2 separate regions of the Homo sapiens genome follow, and region 2 is linked to region 1. The links are contacts of gene promoters, found by promoter capture Hi-C in human tissues and cell types (Jung and others, 2019). All regions are on one chromosome and are shown on one strand. The core of a region is centred on a gene start or on the middle of the fragment in contact, and the rest is flanking DNA. Distances in the headings are between cores, read along the strand shown.

Evidence for each region. The method cuts DNA at HindIII sites, captures the fragments that hold promoters and counts their contacts. A contact is called where the count stands out against the background at its distance.
Region 2: a contact is called between a fragment that was not itself captured here and the fragment with the promoter of ILDR2 in region 1, in 2 of the 25 tissues and cell types used here (neural progenitor cells and thymus).

What each region holds. Positions count from the first base shown.
Region 1 is chr1:166,972,935-166,978,455 of GRCh38, reverse strand. It overlaps ILDR2 (immunoglobulin like domain containing receptor 2), which reads left to right and starts at 2,916. Exons shown (of 10, transcript NM_199351.3): 1 at 2,916-3,233. The coding sequence starts at 3,188. It also overlaps a transcript of LOC124904449 not described here and a transcript of MAEL not described here. RefSeq lists silencers at 2,497-2,546, 2,667-2,956, 3,017-3,066. The HindIII fragment of the contact is 11,019 bases long and covers 1-5,521 here.
Region 2 is chr1:167,006,346-167,011,718 of GRCh38, reverse strand. All of the region lies in intron 8 of MAEL (maelstrom spermatogenic transposon silencer), which reads right to left. Among named protein-coding and RNA genes, the nearest start is that of MAEL, 20 kb to the right of the region's middle. The HindIII fragment of the contact is 6,636 bases long and covers 1-4,927 here.

The sequences.
Region 1 (5,521 bases), core at 1,667-4,166:
CACCATTTTCCCATCCTCTTTCCACCTCCATCCCTTAGGCTACATGTTTTGAATCATTACATATATTTCAAAATTTATATTAACCCTTCATCACCTTGGTAACAACATGTGCAAGGTGATGGAGGGGCACACATTGTGATTCACTCCAGTTTAGCATCCCCTTCAGGATGGCCTGGGCGCCACTCACTCAGGAAGATTCAGGATACACCATGTGTACCTCTCTGGCTATAAAGTAGACATGCAGGGCACTACATGGAAAACACATTTCTGGGATGATGGACAAGGCAACTGCATTCTATGATTCATTGTGGCACAAGCTCTTCTCCAAGTCTCCTGATTCAACTACACAGACACCTCCTCTGAGCAGACATGAGTTCATTTCTGTGGGCATTCACGTTCCACTTCATATACACATCCAGGCTTCCTTCACTCAGTCCATCTCCCATTTTTCACATGTATAAACTTGCTCATATGTCCAAGTTTTGCATAAAATGCCATTTTTTTTGAGACAGGGTCTCACTCTGTCACCCAGGCTGGAGTCCAGTAGCGTGGTCACAGCTCACTGCAGCCTCAACCTCCCAGGTTCAAGTGGTCCTCCCATCTTAGCCTCCAGAGTAGCTGGGACTACAGGTATGTACAACCACGCCTGGCAATTTTTGTATTTTTTGTAGAGATGGGGTTTCACCATGTTACTCAGGCTGGTCAAATTCCTGAGCTCAAGCAATCCGCCCACCTCAGCTTCCCGAAGTGCTGAGATTACAGGTGTGAGCCACTGCACCTGGCCAAAATGCCACTGTTATGTGTGCTTAGATAATAAACACTATTCAAGCTCTTTTGTGCACTGTGACACACACACATAGATGCAGTAAATGGCACAGCATAATACAAATATATCATCTCAATCTTCTGGTGTAGATGTTCTTTTTGTGGTGCAAACAGTATATGCTTTAGAGTCAGATTCAAATCCTAGCTCTGCCACTTACTAGTTGCCTGATCTTAGAGAAGTTAGTTAAATGCTCTGGGCCTAAGTTCCCTCTTTAGGGTTAAATGAGAAGGTTTGTTAAACATGTAGAACTCTGCCTAGAACCTAAAGGAAACCCACAAGTGTTAGGTACCTCCTATATTTTTATTTTTCTGTATATGAAAGGAAATAGTCCTCAAATTTCTCTCATGCAGTACATAGCATGAAAAAATCATCCTGGCCAAAATAAGCAAAGAAAGAGTTTATGAAAGGATATTGGGTGGCTCAAAGAATTGCTGGGGAAGTGAAGAGCCAAGTGTAGAAGAGAGGCTAGAACCCAGAGAGCCTGCAAGACCACAGCCAAAAATCACACCTTGGAGCATCCTGGTGGCTTGACCTCTGCCACAGCTGATCATGTACACTGGATGCTGCTGCTGCCTCAGTGACAAAATCAATTCTCCACTGTCCTTGTTTCTTATATCCACCACTTGCTCCAGAATCAAAAAGCTCTGAGGGAGAGGTCAGCCTGGCTATGCCAGGGGCCCGGGCCTGCATTCCAGCTGGGATGGTCAGGGAGGTGGCTCTAGACTTTCTGGCTTCTGCAGTTGGAATTTCTCAGAATAAGAAGGGAATTGAGATGTCAGGCAGCCATAAAAGACAGCTGCCCAGGGTCTATTCTTCCCATTTCTCACATGTTCACATACATATTCTCCCTGTCTGTGTACACATTCACTCTTAGGTGTGGAGTCTGTCTGCTCCAGGAACTCCCCTCCAGCCTGGCACCACTCTGTTTTCAGATGCTACTTGAGACCTTTCTGCTATGTCTCTTTCCTCTGCCCAGAATGCCCTCGCCTGCCCCCTTTCCACCAGGGATCCTTGAATGGCTCAAATCTTGTGCTTTCTGCAAATGCCAGCTCAGATGTTACCCCTCCTTTATCGTGGTGCCCCCTCCCCACCCACGACTAACTTAGTCCTTCCTCTATGTTCCCAAGGCACTTTCTCTATGTCTCCATTATTGCACTTGCCCCGTTTTACTAGGAATAAGTATCATGTCTTTAATGGTCTGACCTTCCTCCCTTTCCTCGACCCAAGATGAGGCTCCTAAGGGCAGGAAGTCTATCTCATTCCACTTTGTAACCTTAGTTCTTAGCACCTAGTAGAGGCTTCATAAATATATTTCTTAAGCAAATCATACATTTCTCAGTTCTCTCTCAACACATACATTTTGAGACACAAGACAAATCCGTCTGACAAATAGGAATAATCCATGTGAATGCGTGCTGGAATCTATAAAGTGTTGGATGGATTTAAGCCGTTATAATCATTTATCTCATTCTGGTTTTACATATTTTCTGTTAAAGGGCCGGATGCCCTTATTCTACCTCATATTTTAACAGGAAAAAGTAATGACGCGAGATTCCCGCCTACCTTTTTCAATTCTGCGGAGCCTCTTGCCTGGTTCCTTGCACTGTCAAAAAGGAAACCAGACGGAGGGGCGGGGGTACCGCAGAAGCGAACATTCTAGCCTAGAGGACTTGCTAGTTAAGTCCTGTAAGAAGTTACGCCAAGTCCCCGCCGTCCCCCACCCTCGCCGCTGTCACTCTCTCCCCGTTCAGGTTGGCTGTGGCTGCCCGCAGACACAGGCTCCCCTGCTCGAGTCCCCAGCCAGCGTTCTCGCCCGGGTTCCCGAGCGCGGGCGTCCCTGGGAGAAGCCGCGATGGTCGCTCCCCGCTCGGCGCGGCCCGCGGGGCGGCCTCCCCCGCGCCTCTCGCTGCCTGCCACCCAGAGACCCCCTCTCTCCGCGTGGCCTCAATCACTCCACGCTGACCTTTGGGCCGCCGGGGGCCAGCACGTGACCGAGAAACTTTGGCAGTCGCGGCAGCGGGCGGCGGGGCGGAGGCGCGGGAGGCGGTGCGGCGGCCGAGCTCCCCCGCGCGGCGGGCTCTGCGGCGGGGAGACGCTCGCCCCGTGCCGCGCTGCCTGGGCATGCGGATGCGCCGCCGAGCGCTGCGCGGACCCCGGAAGCCCGCGGCAGCGCGCGCTCAGCCGGCGGCGCGATCCAGCCCCCGGCCCCGCCTGCGCGGCCGGCCCGGCGGGCGCTGCGCCCAGGGACGCCCGGTGCCCGCCGCTCCGCCGCCGCCCGCTGCCGCGGGGTGACAGCGATCCTTCTGTTCCAGCCATTTCCCACTTTCCTCACTCCGTAATTCGGCTGGGAAGTTGGGGAAGATGGATAGGGTCTTGCTGAGGTGGATTTCTCTCTTCTGGCTAACAGGTAAGAGTCCTTTTCAACAGAAACGAATAACTTTGTATATTCCTGTAGTGGTTCTGTTCTCACCGCGCCCCCCGCCCCCCCATTTTCCTCCTTACTGACCATGTTTAAAGCTGCTTAGCGGTCTGGTGGAAAGTGGGGGAGGGGGCAACGTGTGTGTTTGTGTATGTGTTTGTGTGTGTGTGTGTGAGAGAGAGAGAGAGAGAATGATGGGGGCGGCGGGGGAGAAGCCCAATGACAAGTGAGACGCATCTAGATGCAGGTGTTTGACTCATTGGCGCTGAGGTTGTTCTTTCGAATGCATTTCCCCTCCATAAAACGGTTCTCCTTCGGTCTTATCCTGAGTTTGTAATGCTGTGAGTCTTGTGAAAAGCCTGGCTGGAATAAAGGAAGCTCAGAGGGAGCTGATTAATTAAATGAACTGGTTTTCTGGAGGTGGAGGCTAGAGGACTGTCTCCTTAATTTCTTCCCTAGAGAAGGAGGGGGACCCAGGGCATTCTCTCTGTGGCTCTCTGGAGGGTGCAAGGAACTGGAGGTTGGGAAGAAGATGGGGATGGAACCTTCACTGGTTGTGGAGTTTAGAGCCTGGCTCTCTCTTACTTGGTATCATTTGGGGAGTGGTCCCAAATGATAATTAGAAAGCAGAAGAGCCTTTCTAATAGGTGCACTCTCCGCTCCCTAAAAGATAATTTGCAGAGAGATTTAGAGGCATTGGGCTTCTCCCCAGCATCAAAGTCACTGGTCTAGCTGGGTCCTCTGTGCCCTCCCCTCCTTTTTGGTGAACTTTCTCCCCATTCTGCTGGGGTCAGTAGATGCTCTTGTTCTTAACCTATTTCCCCACATGAGGATTCCGATTCCCATAGGGATACAGGGCCTTGGGGTGGCCAGCCCTGAGAGATTCACAAAGCAGCCCTGCTGAAGGGAGTAGGATGGGGGTGAGGAATGTCTGGATAGCTTGGACTGGGTCAGAGGCAACCATTCAAATCAAGGTGGAGGCAGAATGATGGAAGAAATGGAAAAAGGGATCAGAAAGGTGAGGACAGGATGGGGGTGGAAGGCAGGAGAGAAAAGGGACAATAGTACCACATGAGAAGTTTTGTCACCTCTAGCATCACCAGCCAGAAGATCTGGACAAAATCAAGGCACTAGGCAAAGGGGAACAAGCTTAAAATAGCTAAAACAAGTCATGTAAAGGGGGTAAAATACATTTAGCAAGAAAAGGCAAATACCCCATTTCCCTTAGCTTCAGAATAAGATTCTTCATTGCCTAAATATTTTTCCCATTTCAAATGAAATGCCCCTAACATTGCCGTTGCCCCACTGCTGGGTTTAGGCTGGGGGAGGCATCCTCAGCAGAGTTAGCCTCTTCTTTTGGCTGCTTTGAGTTCATCCCTCCCACATTATTCAGATATGAATCATCTCTAATTTCAGGGTTTGGCTGATCCATGCCACCCCGCTCCCCTGGCCTCCCAGTGCCTTCCACTCCCACCCTCACTGATTCTTCACATCCTTAATCTGCCTCTACTCTCGGTTATCAATATTCTCAGGGCACTTAGTCCTTGAGCCTGTATCACAACAGCACTGAAGTCAGCCAGGCATCGGGGGGGGGGGGGAGGGGTCCCTGAGTCAGAGGTGCTCTTTACAGACACGCTGGGGTCTGCCTAAAAGAAGTACTCTGGGGGTTTGCAGGGAGTGAGAGAAGAAGGGAAACATAGAGCTCTCTTTAGATGGCTCACAGCTTTTTATGAAATGGAATCATATCACTGGAGGGTACTACAGGAACTGTAGTTCAGCCCTCTCAGTTTATAGAGATGGAGTCCTAGAGAGGCAATATGCACATAGCACGTTCATGATTGATTAGGGACTAGATTCCAGTTCTCTCAAACTCCAGACCAGTCTCATTTGCCCTCTCCTAAGCTGCCTCTCTGGGCTTTTTGCTGGAGGGCTTTTTGTTTTATTTTTGTTTTGAGGGAGGTGATGGCTTTGTCTGTGCCTTCTGCCACCTGCACCTGGAGAGGCTGTTCTGCTTGGAATCAGGCAACAGGTTAGTTATCAGGACCAGCTCAGCTGTCAGATGGCTGGGGATTCTTTGCTCCAAAAGTGAGACTGACTCCTGGGATCCCATTGATCATCCTCTGCTCCCTGCTCCTGCTTTCTCCTCATCCCATCACTGCTGTCAGAGGTGTGGACAGACAAGCTGCCTCTCAGCCTCAGCAAAGTAGAGGAGCAAACAATGGCGGCTGGGGAGGGGAGGGAGGAGACAGAAGCAGACAAGGAGGAGATGAATTCAG
Region 2 (5,373 bases), core at 360-2,859, 35 kb before region 1:
TTTGCAATCCTTCAACATTTTAGTCAATAAACCATTTAAAGATTATTTGAGGACATATTAGTTTGTCCCTGAAAACTTTCTTTTGACCTCTTCTGAAAAGATCAAGAAAGAACTGGCATCAAAACTTGCAGAAAGGATATGCTTAGAAGAAAACCCCAGAGACAACAGTGGAGTTCTTTTTTAAGAAATGCTGTATCGCCAACACTCTTAATGGCACAGAGGACAATAATGTATAAAAACATGGACAATGAATGACTCAATGTGAAATTTTAGAAATACTTCAGCCTGTAACTGAGGTAATGGTACATAAATCCAAATATCTTAACACATCATCCATAAGCTTTACAGATTAACAAGAACAACAACAACAAACGTGGGGAAAACAAAATCTACACCTACAGCATAACTAGAAGAACACTACAAAACTCAGTTGTCTATAAATAGAAAAATGAAAACTGTAATTTCCAATGGAGCAATTTCTCAATCTCCTACCCCAACCTTTATATGCAGTAGAGTCCAGAAAAAACTTGGGGAAGGAAGAAAGAAAATGGAGAGCCTAAGATTAAATTAAAATCATTCTTACAATGAGGAAGCCCATTCTTTACGTAAATATTCAAACAGTCCTAGTAGATCAGAGCACTGACTATAGGCAAGTGCCATGCTAAGTGAAAGAGGAAGGGGGAAGGGCCCTTTAGAAATTAGGTAGAAAAAAAAAAGCAAAGGGGGAAATTTAAGATCATGCAGGAAATAAAATTCTAAGAACCTACAACCACACTCCCACCACCCTGAAAACATTCATTAAAGAACCTGTACTTTGTCACATTGACAGAGAGGAAGGTTCTTGGAAAAAAGACTCTCAATCAAACCTCCCGCTAAATTATCAGCCTTGTCCAAGAAACGCAAAGGAGCAATGTATCTTCATCTACAGAAAGCTATTATGGGAAGAAAACAAGCTATTATAAGAACAAAATAGCCAGGCATAATGGCTTGCACCTGTAATCCCAGCAATTTGGAAGGCTGAGGCAGGAAGATCACTTGAGGCCAGAAGTTCGACACCAGCCTGGGCAACACAGCAAGACTCTGTCTCCACGACAAATGAAAAATAACTAGGTACGCATGGTGGCACATGCCTGTAGTACCAGCTACTCAGGAGACTGAGGCATGAGGACTGCTTGACTCTAGGAGTTCCAGGCTGCAGTGAGCTATGATTGTGTCACTGTATTCCGGCTGGGGTGACAGAGCAAGACTCTCTTTAAAAAAAAGAAAAGAAAAGAAAAGAAAACAGAAAAGGAGAATCAAAACACTTTAGCTGATAATTTCTCATACCCCCACCCCCCAAAAAAACATGAAGGAGGGGAAAAACCTAACATTACTGTATTAGTCTGTTCTCACACTGCTGTGAAGTAATATTTGAGACTGGGTAATTTATAAAGGAAAGAGGTTTAACTGACTCACAGATTTGCATTGGTGGGGAGGCCTCAGGAAATTTATAATCATGGGAAAGGCAAAGGAGAAGCAGCCACCTTCTTCACAAGGCAGCAGAATGGAATGAGTGCAAACAGGGGAAATGCCAGATGCTTATTAAATCCATCAGATCTCATGAGAACAGCATGGGGGAACCGCCATGATCCAGTTACCTCCACCTGGTCCAACCCTTGACACATGGGGGTCATAGGGATTACAATTCGAGGTGAGATTTGGGTGGGGACATAGAGCCAAAGTATATCAATTACCATTCCATGTTAAATTAAATATCCTCAAAAAGAATGTGAGAATATAAAAACACACCCTGAATGAGAAACTTCAAAACTAGAAACAGAAATAAACAAAAAATGAAGAAATTACTTAACTCAAGAAAGAGAGGGGAAAAAAAAGACAAAAACATTACAGAAAAGAACTAAATTACCAACTGCCCAAGGCTGAACAGATTCATTTGTAAAGTTAATAAGAGAAACTGAAGAAAGCAGAAACTATCATGAGAATAAACAAAGTAAAAAGGGTCAGAAAAAGTGATTAAAATGAAAGGCAAAGAAGATCAAACATACATATATATTGGACTCCTTTTAAGAAGAAACATTAGACAGTGGAACAAAACTAACATTAAACTATGATCTAAAAAAAAAAAAAATCTCCAGAAATAGAACCTGATTCTGCATATTGAAAGGGCTCACCAAATGTCTTAGAAAATGGACCTGCATATAAACTCAGAGAAATAGCCTAGTAACAGTATTAGACTTTAAAAATGAAAAAAGACTAAAGTCTCCAGGCAAAATGATCAACTAACTCCAGTCAAAAAGATCAGATAACTAAGGCCAAGAAAATTAACTGACCAAATTTCACAAAAGGAACACACAAAGCCATGAAATGAAGTTGCATTTTCTAGAAACTCAAGGAAATATGGTGTACACCATTAGAAAAAGTTTTAAACATGCAAGAACACAGGGAATACTCTTCCATGAGCCCCTGATCAATTTACTGTATCAAGGTTCAGCAAACTTTAACTTTTAAGGCATCAAATATCACAGCAGCCAGCTTACAACTACAGGAAATGCAATGAAACACAGACAGAAACACAGTAATAATAGGAGATTACTGTCAACACAAGACATATCAACTGGATAAAATATACCTAAAGAAAATGTAAACAATACAATTAATGTAGATGATGTATGTGTGTGGATCTCAAATGCTATATCCTGAAAAGAAAGTATATTCTCATATGCCAAGAGAACAGTCACAAAAATTGATTATATATTAAGTCAGCAAAAAAACCCCAAAGACCAGTAACTTCCATAAAGTAAAAATATTATAAACACTTTCTGATCACAATGTAAAAACACTGGAATTTACTAAAAGAAACAAAATGCAGAAAGTCCTTTTCACCTGGACATTTAAAAGCCTTGTTTTAAAGAGATGGTGGCTGAGAGTTAAAATGACATAATTTATTTAAAATGGCAATGAAAATATTGCATGCAATAATCTACGTAAATTCATTGAAAACAATGATTAAGAGAAAATTCACTCTACTAAACACATCAAAAAAATCAGGCAAAAGATAAATTACATTTCCAGCCCCCAAAACTAGAAAAAGAACAACAACATACAAAGAGAGTAACAGCAAAAATTAATTAGGAAGAGAATAGAAAAACAGGTCTAATAAATTAAAATCCTATTGTTTTGAAAAATTAAAAAAGACAACACATTTGCTTACAAAAAAATGAGAGAGCACAAATATACAATGACAAGATAACCATTGAAACAGATGAAATTTAAAAAAATTTTAAGAGACCACACTTCCTTGCAGATCTTTAAACAAATAACTTTGAAAAGCTATATAACATGTATCATTTTCTAGAAACATACAGATTACCAAAATTTACCCCATTAAAATTAGAAAGCCTAATAAAACCAATTTCCATAGAAGAACAGAAAAAGTTATCAAGGAACTGCTCCTACAAAAATGCGCCAGTCCCAGAGATGCACAATCTGTGTGAGAAAAATTTTAAAACATATTTGAAAGACACAAAAGTAGATTTGAACAATGGAAAGATGTCCCTAGTCTTTGGAAACAACTCAACAATATAAATATTTCAGTTATCCCCAAGTTAATTTATAAATTTAATGCAATCCTAACAAGCTTTTTTTAATGAAGCTAGAATAAAGTGACACTTCTGAATATTATTTTTGTTTACAAAACGGAAATGCTTTAGACATTCAAAAGCTAAATTAGCAAAAATGGAATACAAACAAGCAAACGAACTTAACTATTAATATATTTCAAAAGAGTAATTTGTACTGAAAGGGGAAAAAAGAACCTAAATAACTTCTGAACAAAGTATTTTGACTATATACTTTCAGACTAAAAGCGATTATAAACAAACTCTAAACAGTTGTATGTCTTTTTTTAAAAATAGTGGTACCATATAATTCTAAAAAATACTGACAGCCAGGGTTCTCATTCTCAGAGAAAGGAAATTTTTTAAAAAGTAAAAAAACTAGAGAACTCTATGGTATTGGATTGAAATTACAGGTTAAGTGTGAACTCATGATAAGATAGAGATGGATAAAAAGATTGAGAGACCTAGCTACAAACAGATGTATATGGAGTGTGTGTGTACATACACACACACACACACACACACACACACACACACACACACAAACATATATTTCCTAGCTCTCTACTAAGGGGATCTAGAATCAATGATACTCTAGTAAGAAATGAGCACACCTACCACCCAGATTCTATCTCCTAACTGTTATGCTCCACTAAAAGAAACCAGAGATTCTTGGGAGAAATGGCTAATCCAGGGCTGGAACAAAGAAAGTACAAGATAGGCCTGGAACATATTGTGCCAAATAGAAAGCAAAGAAGCACTGTTAGATAGAAAGCAATGAAGCAATGTCAAAAGGACACACAAACCCCTGCTTGAAGGTACTCCCACTGGCCATATATGGAACAATTTGATCATAAAAATAAATTACAATAATAGATTAAAATGTACTGAATAGGAATCCATGAGTCCATGCTCATATAAATGAAAAAAATAAATAAATGGGTAAAAAGGAGAAACTTTTTTTTTTTTTACAGTGGAATGCCAACCAATAAATGCAGAAGGAACAATCAAATTAGAAAAATCACCTTTCACAATGATAGTAATAATTGACTCAGGCAAAAATCAGCACTTGATACTAAAATTTGTATATGAAAGTTTGAGGAAGAGAATACCTACCCAATTTGAAAGTATTTCCCCACAAAATATTTATTAATTATATGGTAAAAAGCTGGGAGCAGTGGCTCACGCATGTAATCCCAGCACTTTGGGAGGCTGAGGCGGGTGGATCACGTGAGGTGAGGAGTTCAAGATCAGCCTGGCCAACATGGTGAAACCACATCTCTACTAAAAATACAAAAATTAGCTGGGCATGGTGGCGGGTGCCTGTAATCCCAACTACTCGAGAGGCTGAGGCACGAGAATCACTTGAACCTGGGAGGTGGAGGGTGCAGTGAGCTGAGATTACACTACTGCACTCCAGCCTAGGTGATACAGCAAGACTCTGTCTCAAAAAAAAAAAAAATGTATATATATATATATATATATATATATATATATATAGTAAAAAACCAGTAACTTTCCAATAGAGAAATATTGATAGGTACTATATTAAACAAGTGATCAAAGTTATCATCATCAGTAATTGGACAAACTGACATCATATACCTCCAGATATGACACACTGAGCAGTCAGTCACATAATCCCTTCTGTGGTATTCCTGCCAAAAATGCATAATCTCAATTTAACCATGAGGAAATACAGATCAACTAAAAGTGAGAAACATTCTATAAAGTAACTGGCCTGTACTCAAAAATG